Linked DNA regions of Homo sapiens: regions 1, 3, 4 and 5 are each linked to region 2. Evidence: promoter capture Hi-C in 16 types of primary human blood cells and fetal thymus (Javierre and others, 2016). All regions are on one chromosome and are shown on one strand. The core of a region is centred on a gene start or on the middle of the fragment in contact, and the rest is flanking DNA. Distances in the headings are between cores, read along the strand shown.

Evidence for each region. Contacts are between HindIII fragments. The CHiCAGO score rates a contact against its expected background, and 5 or more counts as called.
Region 1: a fragment that was not itself captured here is called in contact with the fragment with the promoter of CLASP2 in region 2 in 2 of 17 cell types (M1 macrophages and naive CD4 T cells); the score reaches 5.2 in M1 macrophages.
Region 3: a contact is called between a fragment that was not itself captured here and the fragment with the promoter of CLASP2 in region 2, in 3 of 17 cell types (M1 macrophages, non-activated CD4 T cells and M2 macrophages). The highest score is 6.5, in M1 macrophages.
Region 4: a contact is called between a fragment that was not itself captured here and the fragment with the promoter of CLASP2 in region 2, in 1 of 17 cell types (M1 macrophages). The highest score is 7.1, in M1 macrophages.
Region 5: a contact is called between a fragment that was not itself captured here and the fragment with the promoter of CLASP2 in region 2, in 1 of 17 cell types (M1 macrophages). The highest score is 5.8, in M1 macrophages.

The regions. Positions count from the first base shown.
Region 1 is chr3:33,584,905-33,587,604 of GRCh38, reverse strand. It overlaps CLASP2 (cytoplasmic linker associated protein 2), which reads left to right. Exons shown (of 39, transcript NM_001365631.1): 22 at 2,685-2,700. Among named protein-coding and RNA genes, the nearest start is that of CLASP2, 130 kb to the left of the region's middle. The HindIII fragment of the contact is 1,441 bases long and covers 584-2,024 here.
Region 2 is chr3:33,716,855-33,719,554 of GRCh38, reverse strand. CLASP2 (cytoplasmic linker associated protein 2) reads left to right here and starts at 1,301. Exons shown (of 39, transcript NM_001365631.1): 1 at 1,301-1,747. The coding sequence starts at 1,553. RefSeq lists an enhancer at 940-1,029 and a silencer at 1,230-1,569. The HindIII fragment of the contact is 12,344 bases long and covers 1-2,700 here.
Region 3 is chr3:33,500,368-33,503,067 of GRCh38, reverse strand. CLASP2 (cytoplasmic linker associated protein 2) reads left to right here. Exons shown (of 39, transcript NM_001365631.1): 38 at 1,300-1,416. Among named protein-coding and RNA genes, the nearest start is that of UBP1, 61 kb to the right of the region's middle. The HindIII fragment of the contact is 162 bases long and covers 1,336-1,497 here.
Region 4 is chr3:33,534,134-33,536,833 of GRCh38, reverse strand. CLASP2 (cytoplasmic linker associated protein 2) reads left to right here. Exons shown (of 39, transcript NM_001365631.1): 34 at 1,373-1,601. Among named protein-coding and RNA genes, the nearest start is that of UBP1, 95 kb to the right of the region's middle. The HindIII fragment of the contact is 265 bases long and covers 1,192-1,456 here.
Region 5 is chr3:33,556,433-33,559,132 of GRCh38, reverse strand. The region is part of intron 29 of CLASP2 (cytoplasmic linker associated protein 2); the gene reads left to right. Among named protein-coding and RNA genes, the nearest start is that of UBP1, 120 kb to the right of the region's middle. The HindIII fragment of the contact is 217 bases long and covers 1,268-1,484 here.

The DNA.
Region 1 (2,700 bases), core at 55-2,554, 130 kb after region 2:
CCTTCTATACAGACAGTAAATTGTTAATTTCATTGGAAACACTGCTTTGTTTTACAATATTGTTATCACTAATAGGAAATAAGTTTCATTTTGTATGCTGGTAAAGTTTAAGAATTAAGCATTAATATAAATTGTATTCAGCAAGACCATTCCAAGAAAACTGTAGTAAGAATCACAGATCGGCCGGGTGCGGTGGCTCACGCCTGTAATCCCAGCACTTTGGGAGGCCGAGGCAGGCGGATCATGAAGTCAGGAGATCGAGACCATCTGGCTAACACGATGAAACCCTGTCTCTACTAAAAATACAAAAAATTAGCTGGGCGTGGTGGCGGGTGCCTGTAGTCCCAGCTACACAGGAGGCTGAGGCAGGAGAATGGCGTGAACCTGGGTGGCAGAGCGTGCAGTGAGCCAAGATCACACCACTGCACTCCAGCCTGGGCGACAGAGCAAGACTCCGACTCAAAAAAAAAAGAAAGAAAAAAAAGAATCACAGATCGCCAGCCCATGGACCATGTCTAGTCTGTCTCCATTTATGTATTATTTGGCCTATAGAACATGCTAAAAATCTGGAAATATCAAAGCTTTCATTTTTGAAAAATCCCAAGACCTATCCACTATTACCTCAAGACAAAGGTGGCTAGAACTAAAAAGTCACCTCTCACTTTAGGAAAGGGCAGGCACCCCCCCTCTTGATCAGTCATCTTACTACTCCCTGCTTTACACAGTGCCCCTCTCTTTTTTGACATCCTGTGCTTGTCCCATTGGCATTTGAGTCTCTGTGGAAATGAAGCCTGATTGGGTAAGACTGTATAACATATAATCATACAGCCCTCTTACTGGGTAGAAGTAGTGCCCACGAAGGGAAAAGGTTGCTTTCATGAAGATTTATTTAATTGCAACTTTAGTTTTTCTGTTACTTTTCTGAATCTACATTTAGATTATATCTTGGAGTTCTTATCTAGTACTTTTTCTATTCAACGTAGACATAAAGTGCTTTGATTGACAGGGAGCTTATCTCCTTAAAATTTAACCCTTGCATTTCTAGTTTAAAAACATGTTTTTAAAACTTTTTTTAAACCCATGCACAGTCTCTGAAAAGATTTTACTAACTCTACCTGTGTTCCTGACCACATGTCCACCTTCCAAAACTGAAAATTACTCATTTGAAAAGAGGCCAGGCGTGGTGGCTCAGGCCTGTAATCCCAGCACTTTGGTAGGCCGAGGCAGGCAGATCACAAGGTCAGGAGTTCGAGACCAGCCTAGCCGACATGGTGAAATCCTGTCTCTACTAAAAATACAAAAATTAACCAGGTGCGATGGCAGGAGCCTATAATCCCACCTACTCAGGAATCTGAGGCAGGAGAATCACTTGAACCCGGGAGGCGGAAGTTGCAGTGAGCCGAGATCGCGCCACTGCACTCCAGCCTGGGTGACAGAGCAAGACTCTGTCTCGGGGGGGAAAAAAGAAAAGAAAGAAAAGGATCTGATTCATTTGATGTTTTCCCCTTACTCCCCTTCTACCCTTGGGACTTCTATAACCCAGAATGTCACTACCCAAGAGCGCTTTGCTATTTGAAGACAAATAGCAAAAAACAAGTTTCTTTTTCAGCTGGCCCAATTTTGTCAGCATTTAAAATTTAATTTTGTTAAGTTTAAAAATACGTCTAATAGTAAGACAGATAGCTTTGCTGTACCATTCAGAGAAATCTCAGCAGGCAAACTATTTTAAAATGAAACAGATTATCATTATTATATACTTAACAAAAAATAGTGATAGAATTACCGGGTTTTTTTTTAATACAGTCATGCTCTGCATAACCACATTTAATCAGTGACCACATATGTGACAGTAGTCCCGTAAAATTATAATACTGGGAAGGAGATGAGGAACAAAAGACTGCGTATTGGGTACAGTGTACATTGTTCGGGTGACAGGTGCACCAGAATCTCAGAAATCACCACTAGAGAAGTTATTCATGTCACCAAACACCACCTCTACCCCAAAAACCATTGGAAATAAAGCTTTAAAAAATTATAATACTATATTTTTACTGTACCTTTTCTGTGTTTAGGTATTTTTAGATACACAAATATTTACCATTGTGTTACAGTTGCCTACAGTATTGTTAATGGCATACTGTATAGGATTTGTAGCCTAGGAGCAATAAGCTATATACCATATAGATCTGTAGTAGGCTATACCATCTAGGTTTGTGTAAGTACACTCTATGATGTTCACACAATGATAAAATCACCCAACAACACGTTTCTCAGAATGTATCCCATTGTTAAGTGACATATGACTGTATATAGCTTATTCACGTAGAACATGATAGCCATATGAAATGGATTGTCAGATAAGTGATTTCTTTGGAAATCTTGTATACCATTTGTGTTCTAAAAATTATAATAATGTTCTCCTTATTAAACATAGTGTCTTATACCTCCAAAACTGAAAGTATATTTTAGATGATTTACCATTTAGTGCTCATATATGTAGTATACCTTTTTTTTTCCAGGTTATAATTATATTTAAATCTTCCTCGGTCTATTTCCTTTGAGCGTAGAACCTGCCATACTGTCACAGTTTTCTCTGTATTATCAATATTTCTTGAATTTTTATCCTTTCAGCAAATTCTCTTGGCATTTACATGTTAACATTTGTATATGTGTTTGGTGTTCAGCTGGTAGCCGGTCTGG
Region 2 (2,700 bases), core at 52-2,551:
TCAATTTCTTTGAATTTTGAGTTTGTTTATTCTTAGTTATTGTGAATATTTCAAATATCAATTTTTGTTGAATTCATTCACTCATTTAACTTAAATTGGCCACCCATTATTTGCTAGGCACCACCCTAGGAAAACACAAAGGTTCCTGGAGCTTTCTGTGTATTAGAAGAGAAAGATATTACATAAATAATCATTTTGTTGTGATTGGGAATAATTGTCAAGAAGATAAACACAGTGTGCTTTTGGAATGTATTAGACAACTTTACCCCCACCAGAATGGCTAAAACTAATAACCCTGACCATATCAAATATTGTGGAGCAACTGGAACTCTCAAGCATTGCTGGTGGGGATTTAATATGATCCAGTCACTTTGGTAAACAATTTGGCAGGTTCTTCTAAAGTTAAACATACAACTTACAAGACCTAGTAATGCCAGTCCTTGGTATTTATTTACCCATGAGAGAAGAAAATATATCCACACAAAAACTTGTGCACTAACCGTTGTAGCAGCTTTATTCATAATTATAAAAAATAGGAAACAACCCAAATATCTACCAACAAGTGAATGGATCGACAAATGGTAGTGATTCCACAGAATGGAAAGCAATAAAAAGGAATGGACTTCTGAGACACCAACAGCGCTGGATGGACCCCAAACGTTATGCTAAAAGAAACCAGACTCCAAAGAAGCACAGACTGTATGAAGTTCAGGAACAGGGAAAACTATGTTACCATGCTAGAAATCAAATTAGAATTGCCTAGGGAAGAGCAGATAATTGGGAAGTGTCCTGGGACTTCCTGGGGTGTTGGAAACGTGCTGTACCCTCACTGGGGTGGCGGTTCCACGGGTGAATACATTTGCCGAAACTCATGAAGTGTACGCTGAAAATCTGTGCGTTTTACTTTAGGCAAACCTAAGTTTTGTTTTGTTTTGTTTTTTTAAGTATTACACAGTGACTGTGGTGGTGGCTGGAAGCAGAAGTCAGGAGTGTATTCTTTTTTTTTTTTTTTTTTAAACCGGCAGTGGGGGCGGGAAAGGGGGATGCCAAGTACTTTCCTAAGTGTTGAATACAAGTGGAGGCAAACTTGGAAACGTTCCACATTTCACAGGGCGAGGGCAGGGTGCCCTGACAGCGGCTAGCAAAGAACGGCCCGCCTCCCAGGGGGCTCGGCCCAACTCGGACCCCAAGTCTCCCTAGAGGTCCTATCGCTCCCAGCGGTTTCCGCAGCCACCTCCACCACCTCCGCAGCAAAACGCTAGCCGGACTGGAGGGCCCTCGCCGGCGTCGTGCTGACGTCACGCGCGTGCTGACGTCGCCCGCGGCCGCGGCCTCTGAAGCGGGCTGGGGATCGGGGGGCGCCGAGTTTGACTAGTTTGGGGGCGGCTGGGCGCTTGGCGTTCCTCCCGCCGCCCGCTGCGCCCCGCAAGCCGCGCCCCTGGCGGGCTAAGTGAGTCCCGCCCGCTCCCGCGGGGACCCGCACTGGAGGCTGGGCGGCTCTCGGCGAAAGTTGGCCGCTCACAGACTGGCAGGCGGGCGGGCGGCCGCAGCCATGGAGCCCCGCAGCATGGAGTACTTCTGCGCCCAGGTGCAGCAGAAGGACGTCGGCGGCCGGCTGCAGGTCGGCCAGGAGCTCCTGCTCTACCTTGGCGCCCCCGGCGCCATCTCGGACCTGGAGGAGGACCTGGGCCGCCTAGGCAAGACAGTCGACGCGCTCACCGGCTGGGTGGGTTCGAGCAACTACCGGGTAAGCGACGGCGGCGAGGCTGGGCTGGTCACGCCCTCCGCGGCAGCCCTTTAATCCCGGACGCGAGCGCCGGGCCGGGAAAGCTCCCGTCCGAACCACTGCTTAAGAGGGGAAACACACTTTGGGAAGCACAGGCGGGCGGATCACGAGGTCAGGAGTTCGAGACCAGCCTGACCAACATGGTGCAACCCCGTCTCTACTAAAAATACAAAAATTAGCCGGGCGTGGTGGCGGGCGCCTGTAATCCCAGCTACCCAGGAGGCTGAGGCAGGAGAATCGCTTGAATCTAGCAGGCAGAGGTTGCAGTGAGCCGAGATCGAGCCACTGCACTCCAGCCTGGGCGACAGAGTGAGACTCTGTCTCAAAAAAAGTAAAAAATAAATAAAAATAGGGGAAACAGGGGGGTCCCGCGTCCCCACTGGGCAGACCGCCTCTTCGTACGCGAGCCGAGGACTGACTTGTGACCACATTTTTCTACACTTGTGGACAATGACAAATTCAGCGATTCCGTGACACGTTGCGGAGTTACTAGGACACAATGTTGATCACTTATTTTGAAAAAAAAATCAGTGAAAGACTTCGACATTTGTGTTCACCTGTGTAAACACTACCCAGACCAACAGATAGGACATTAGGATACGATTTTAGGTTGATGTGTCTTAGTAGATAGGCTAATGCTGGGGGGGAAAAAGTTACAAAGATGAGGTGCGAGAAAGAATGAGCCTTTCTGAAGAGTTGGTGGTAGGCAGGGTGTAATGTAGCCGCGTTGGGAGGCCAGGTAAATATTTTGTATTTAACTTGCCCCGTAGTCGTTAGTAGTTACTTTTCTTTCTTGTCTTCTGGTGGCAGTGTTGCTTTAAAATGCTGACTGCAGCTTCCCATGGATGAAGTGATTCTTCTTAGTAACATATTCTCATGATCCAGCGAATAGGCTGTACTTTGAAACCTTTTAT
Region 3 (2,700 bases), core at 167-2,666, 220 kb after region 2:
TAAATATTTAAACATTGAATGCCATACTCTTTGCAGTGTTATTTGTAATAGGAAAAATTTAGCAGGAAGGAGGTTATTGGGGAGGAAGATGTAAACTTACAATACTCTAGAATGGTTAAATTAGGAAGCATACTAAATGAATGCCTCATATCATTATTATAAAGACCATATAGAAAAATTAATTTACATTATAATTGCAATTATATTAAAATGATGGAAAATAAAATTAACAGTTTGATTGCATGACTTAGGAATAATGTACTTCTTTTAGCTAGATATCTATTGATATTTTAATGTTTCTGCAGTTGTTTTAGAAAGATAAAATGATTAGGATTTTAGTGGAGATGAGCTCTATTTTTTCCCTGGAGTAAAATGTGCATATTCATTCAGATAATTCATTCAAAAATATTTCATGGATAAGATTGCTGTAGAGTATTGAAATAGAGTAAGTAGTGTGATCAAAAGCGTAAGTGGGAGAGATGGACAGAGAAAGGGAAGATGTTGGTCAAAAGGTACAAAGTTTCAGTTAAAGAGTATTAGGTTCTAGCTACGTATTACACAGCACAGTAACTAGTTAATAATGTATATTTCAAAGTAGCAATTATAAAAGAAAATGCATTTTAAATGTTACCACAAAGAAATGATAAGTATCTGAGGTGATGGATATGTTGATTAGCCTGATTTGGTCATTCCACAGTGTACATGTATTGAAACATCACATTATACCCCATAAATATATACAATTATTATTTGTCAATTAGAAACAAGTTAATTTTTTAAATAAAATTAGGTTATTAAAGGCACAGTAAAAGCATAGGGGAATAGTTTACATAGACTAGATTTATTAGAGAAAGTAATTGCAGGGATGGAACAGATGTAAAACTTAATCGGGCCTGGATTATGTGACTACCTTGAGCTACCAAACCAATGAATTTAGGTTTTATCGGATAGTGAGGAGTGCTGACTGCCTTAAAACCTAATGCTTTAGGAAAGTTAGTCTGGAGACTTTTTTCAGGGTGAATTGGCAAGTGAGCAGCCTCAGAGTCAGAGAAGTGCAGCTTTCCAGACTAAGTAAGAACCTGATATAGAGGGCTAACAGTGAGGGCGCAGTAGGGGAAGTGAAGGGAGAGAAGGGCATTGTCTATGCTTGAAAAGGTTAAAAAGTTAACTTTGATCTGCACTTTTCTCTCCTTAGTATGCTCGAGATTTCATCTTTCAGCTGCATCTTCTGACCCTGTTAAAAAGGGAGTACTAACAGTGGACTTCTCTGGAGTACTAACAGTGGACTTCTCTCCGTAGGGTTATGATAATTCAGAGAGCAGTGTTCGGAAAGCTTGTGTCTTCTGCCTGGTGGCTGTTCATGCGGTAATTGGTGATGAACTAAAACCACATCTCAGTCAACTTACTGGCAGTAAAGTAAGTAGTGCTGCTGTGTTTTAGAGATGGTGGCCATAGTACATCTTTCAAAACTTAGTTACATGTCTGTAACAGTAAGCTTTTTATTTGGCATTTAATAAGTCAGGCTTTGAGCATCCAACTTGCCCTTATTATTTCTGTTTTGTATTTTATCTTTTTCTACTCTAACATTTGTTAGATGTTCACTCAGGTGAAGTCAGCAGTTTGTTGGGGTGATGGGTAGGTTTCTGTGAGAGAAAATGCCTGCAGCTTCTGGTTATTTATAATAGTTAGCTGACTCCTTACCAAATCCCAGACCCAAATCTTTACCCCTGACCACTGTTTTATTAAGAATAAATAGACTGTTGTGGTTATATATATTAATGGATTACTGTATATCTCTCCAAATATAGAATACTTGCACATTTAAAAATTTTTCCCCTTAAGAACTATGATAATCAAATATTTGTTCTTCTCTTTCTATTATCCAAATTAATGTGCAACTTTAACTTGGTGTGTTAAAATAAAAGTTTTCTAATTCATTGTTCAGACTTAAAAAAATAAGTAAGTCTTGCCTTTCTCATTTGATTGCTACTACCAGTACTTTAAAATTCATTCTGCTAAGGTGGCCAGGCAAAGTGGTTCATACCCGTAATCCCATCACTTTGGGAGGCCGAGGTGGGAGGATCACTTGAGACCAGGAATTTGAGACCAGCCTGGGCAACATACTGAGAAGACCGTGTCTCTAATAATAAAAATGATAATAATTGTTTTGAATTAGAAGTTTGTTCTCAAGGGTGAAGATAACTTCTGATTGTTGAATCATGGCTTATGAACCATTTAGCAGAAAGCACTCACCGTCACTTAAAGAATTTCTGAAACCCTAAGGATTGTCTTACTGTGGTCAAATTTATCTTTTAATAGCAAAAAAGCAGAATATACATATAATGGAAAATGAGCCTAGGTAACACACTTTACATTAAGTTATAGATAGATTTAACAATAATTCTTAACTCGGGTTATAAACCACCTCGAGACTTAGGTAAAATCTCATCTTAAGAAAAATGCATTCAGATAAAACCATGAGAGACAAAGTTTTAAAAAAAATAGAAAAATGCACAATGGAAACAATTACATGTCGTTTCAGAGGGTTCTGTGATCCCGTGAATCCCATGGCTAGCAGGTTAAAAACTCTTGGATCAAAGAGTTAATGTTTAAAAAGCAAACCTTCCAAAACAATTAAAATTCAGCACTTTATCAGAACAGTAGGTAGCCAGTAATAATGTTACATGTGAAGACAGTAGG
Region 4 (2,700 bases), core at 75-2,574, 180 kb after region 2:
CTCCATACCAAATCTGTCAGGAAATCTTTTGTCTCCACTGCAGAATGTATCCAGAATTCAGCCTATTCTCACCACTGCCTTTCTGGTTTGAGCCATCATCTTCATCATTTCTCTCACCTGGATTATTAAAATTTGGCCTCCTTGATTATGCCCTTGACCTCCTATAGTCCACTCTCACTCTCACTCAACTCTATAGGAGGTCTCTGTCTCAGAGTAAAAACCAAAGTCTATACAATAGGCTTTTTTTCTGTTACCTCTCTGGCCTCATCTCCTGCTAGTTTCCTCCTTGTTCACTCTGCTCCTGCCACACTGGCCTCCTTGCTATTCCTTGAACTTACTATGCACGTTCCTGCTTCAGGATCTGTGTATTGGCTGTTTTCTCTACCTGAAACACTCTACCTCCAGATAGCCCCTTGGCTGATTCCCTTACTTCCTTCAAGTGTTTATTCAAGTGGCTTCTCAGTGAACCCTACTCATCCTATTTAATCTGTGAACTCCATCCTCCCACCTCAGCATTCATGATTCCTTCTTCTAACATGTCGTATACTTTATTCGTTCATTAAGTTTTTTTTTTTTTTGGTCTGTCCCTCCACTAAAATATAAACTCCACTGGGGTAGGCATCGTTCTCTCTTTTGCTCACTGATGTATTCCCAATGCTGTGAACAATGCCAGGCATATAATATGTGCATAGTAAATATTTTAAGAATATTTGTAAAGTGCCTAGCAAATGGCTTGGCACATAGTTGCCCAGTGGATGGTGGTGATGCTGATACCCATGGTAGTAATTATTTTGATACCAGTATTTGTATCAATATTCATATTCATATTTTGATAAGTATGTACCCAAATTCTTTTGGCATCCTTCCAAAAGTTATGCAGGCCTTTTAAGCCTTTCTTTTTTTTTTTTTTCTCCTTAAAGCAAGCCTTTTTAAATTTGATTTTATTATGCTTTTTTGACATACTGTTGTATGATATACCATTACCTTAATAATGGAATCTGGCAGCTTGTAGTACTGTATTGCTTATGAAAGTTCTTTTGTATCTTTAACTGACATGGAGAAGTTGCTGGTAATCACACTGTACATATTGTCTGGTCAAGTTGTTTGCAAGGGAACTGTAATAATCATTAGAGGCAGCATTCTTTTACAGTTCTTATTTGCCTTCACAGCTGTAGTTTATATTTTTAAGCTTTGACGTCTGGAATATAAATTGTAACTCATAATGTTGATTGCCATTACTTAAATTTTTTAGCTGGTTATTGTTATCTTTTTAAAATTGTCTTTTAAGCAGTAGAGAAATATCTTTTTAGAATGTTAAATAGATACTTGAAAAATGAGTTAATTTGCTGTGGCTTTCACTTCCCATTGATAGATGTGTGGTGGTCCTGGGATGTCTGACCCAAGAGCAGGAGGTGATGCTACTGACTCAAGTCAAACAGCTCTTGATAATAAAGCTTCATTGCTCCATTCAATGCCTACTCACTCCTCTCCACGCTCTCGAGACTATAATCCATATAACTATTCAGATAGCATCAGTCCCTTCAACAAGTCTGCCCTCAAGGAAGCCATGTTTGATGATGATGCTGACCAGTTTCCTGACGGTATGTTCTGGGTCACACTGCTACTGTCTGTTTTGGAGAACTTGGTAATTGATGAAGTAAAAGAAATGCATATGCTTTTTTATTATAACTCCCAAAAAGTAACAATTTTTAGAATAAGAATGTTTTCTCCCATCTTCTAGGAACTCATCTCTAGTGCTTTGGTCATTTTCTTCTCCTGAATGAGAAACAGGGTAGTCATCTTGAGATCATGATCAAAATCAAGAAAACCTTAGTTACCACCCAGAAATAACTAAAACCAATTGTAGCTTATAAATTTACTTTACCTCTAGACACAATTTATTTGGTCATTAATTTTTATACCACGATGACAAAACCTTTGAAGAAATACCCATTCTTTATAGTAGCCCTTTAAGCATGAAGTCATAAACTTTTTTATTAATAAAATACATTTCAAGGACGAAATATAAGGAAAGTTACCATTAGGATTTGAATTTGGGTGAAATGGGCTTAGTTCTAAGCTCTAACACTTACTAAGCTGCATAGCCTGGCAAGATGGTTAACTTTCCCGAGTCTCAGTTATCACCTCCAAAAGAGGATGATGATGATTATACTACCTAATCCCAGTGTGCAGTAAGATGCAGGTAAGTTGTATAAAAACTGATGATATAGTACAAAACACTACAAATGTTTTAGTGTTTTGTTTAAGAGACTGGGTGTCACTCTGTTGCCCAGTCTGGAATGTAGTCGCTCAAACATAGCTCACTGCAGCCTTGTCCTCGTAGGCTCAAGCGATCCTCCCACCTCAGCCTCCTGAGTAGCTGGGACTACGGACCACCATACTCAGCTAATTTTACCTTTTTAAATAAATGTTCTATAGAGATGGGGCCTCCCTATGTTCCCTAGGCTGGTCTTGAACTCCTGGCCATAAGTGATCCTCCCACCTCAACCTCTCAAAGTGCTGGGATTGTAGGTGTGAGCCACTGTGCCTGTCCTAGTTATTTTTTATAATAAGGAAACATATTTTTTCTTAATTACTTAATTCATTAATACTTTTCTTAAGATTCTAGTACTATATAGTAATATATAACTATACACAGATAAACTTGAAAGTCTTTCTCTCAACACTATCCCATGATTC
Region 5 (2,700 bases), core at 127-2,626, 160 kb after region 2:
GCTCCAAGGTTTTATTGTTTTTGTTTTCATCTGCATTATTTCTTTTCTTAACTCTCTGCAGTGTTTGCATCTGTATTCAACTACTAACCTTTGTAAGCCTTTTACGCATGCACACATTTGATTTCAAATGTTATTTAAATGCAATGCCAGACTCTAAGTCTTTTGGAGAAACTTAATGGTGATACACGTTTGGAAGGCATCACATTATTGCCATCTAACCCTAAGCTGGTAATGCAAACTCACTCTATAAAGTCTTATCTAATTTTATGTTTGTGATTTCCCATTACTTTTTTTTTTTTTAAGTGTCAGGCATTTTAACGGGTATTTTAGGCAAAATGTCAGTTTTGCCTATGTATTAACTAAGCAAAATTTTTTAAATTTAATCTCAGTCCCTTTCTTCAATTATCCTTAACTGAAATAGTAACTTTCTTTTTTTTTCTGATGTATGCATAACATTTGGAGTTATAATTAACTTTCTCGTTTGTTATATACACACATTTTTCAGTTAATATGAAAACTAAATGGATTCCAATTTGTGATTTAAAGTGATTATTAAATTTTACATAAAAGAAAAAATGTAAAAGAATAGCTCCTGAATTCTTTGCTAAAGGTTTTTTTTTTTTAGTGAGTTTTATTAAATGAGATTAAAGTCAGGGAAATAACAAGCATATGTGCTTATACGAGTCCTATATTTTTCTGCTCTATCCTGCACGAAATATATTTCTACAAGCGTTACTGCCCAGGATTGATTTTTCCCTTAAGTTTCTGAATGCAATTGTGCCTCAGAATCACAATTATGTTTCTTATCAGGGCTGACTTTGTAAACCGAAAAGTGTCTGAGACAAGTCTCAATCAATTTAGAGGTTTAGTTTGCCAAGATTGAGGATGCATCCAGGAGAAAGAGACACAAGAAGAAAGCCTGTTCATTCTTCCAGAGAGGGTTTTGAGGACTTTAATATTTAAAAGAGAAAGAGCCAGCTTGAGGGGAAAGAGGAACAGTCAGGCATTCATCTCGTGCTCAGTAAATCTGCATCTTACCTAAGAGAAAGTAAACACAGAGTAGAGGAAGAAGTAAATGTATTTGTCTCTGGGTGAGTGGGGGATGATTTCTAGTCTCATCGTTGTCCTCTACCTGTGAAGATAAACTGTTAATTTACATTGTCAGCATGAGGGAGACCACCTGAAGAACTATGTAGCCTTCTATCTTGCAGCTGTCTGTTTATGAACAAATGGGAGTCAGTTTTCTGAATGACTGAGTTCCCAAGCTTAACTTTCCTTTTGGCATAGGCCGTTTTATTTTCCTTTCACAACTTACACTCAATATAATGTTGTTTTCTTAGAGCTGCTTGGGGAAAGAGATTTCATCTGTTTGATTTTGAAAAGTGACCTGCAGAAGAATAATTTACTTGATATTATTAATAGATATTTTTTAACTCATTTTATGACCAAGGCAGTGTGCTAGGTGTTCCTGGGAATATAAAGCTTGTAATTTTATCATTATTAACTATAATATATAATAAACTCTAAACAGTAATAAAAGTTATGATATAGGTACCTGTAGTGGTGTTCAAGTGCTACTGAAATGTATGTGGAGTTAACTAGGTGTGGTAGTTCATGCCTATAGTCCTAGCTACTCAGGAGGTGAGGCAAGAGGATCGCATGAACCCAGGAGTGAGGTTACAGTGAGCTCTAATCACACCACTGCACTCCAGCCTGGGAGCCTCTTTTTTTAAGAGACAGAGTGAGACCCTGTCCATTGAAAGAGAAAGGAAAGAAAGAAAAAAGTAGATAATATATATAGAGATGTTTCATGAACCAGTGCAAATGAAGGTCTAAACCAGCTTAAGAAGTAAGGGTGAGGCTGGGCACCGTGGCTCACACCTGTAATCCCAGCACTTTGGGAGGCTGAGGCAGGCGGATCACTTGAGGTCAGGAGTTTGAGACCAGCCTGGCCAACATGGAGAAACCCTGTCTCTACTGAAAATACAAAAATTAGCCAGGGGTGATGTTGGGCACCTGTAGTCCCAGCTACTCGGGAGGCTGAGGCAGGAGAATCACTTGAACCGGAGAGGCGGAGGTTGCAGTGAGCCAAAATCATGCCACTGCACTCCAGCTTGGGAGACAGAGTGAGACTTGGTCTCAAAAAAATAAATAAATAAAAATAAGGGGTTGATAGTTGAGTTCAGAGAGAATAAGTTGCAGGAGACTTGAAGAGAAAGACAAAGCGAAGATTGAAATGAGATATGCACAAATTAAAATTAACTTTCCTATTAGAAAACATTATGCTGGAAACTGGAATCACAGATTGTTTCTCTAAAAGCCTAAATTATTTATAAATATGTATTTAATATAGATAATAGATGTATTAGCAAATCCATGAGGGAAAATCACTTTTTGGCTGGGCACGGTGGCTCACGCCTGTGATCCCAGCACTTTGGGAGGCCAAGGTAGGTGGATCATCTGAGGTCAGTAGTTTGTGACCAGGCTGGCCAGCATGGTGAAACCATGTCTCTACTAAAAATACAAAAAGTTAGCCAGGCGTGGTGGCAGGCATCTGTAATCCCAACTACTCGGGAGGCTGAGGCAGGAGAATCGCTTGAACCCAGGAGGCAGAGGATGCAGTGAGCCGAGTCTGCGCCACTGCCCTCTAGCCTGGATGACAGAGTGAGACTCCGTCTCAAAAAAAAAAAAAAGAAAGAA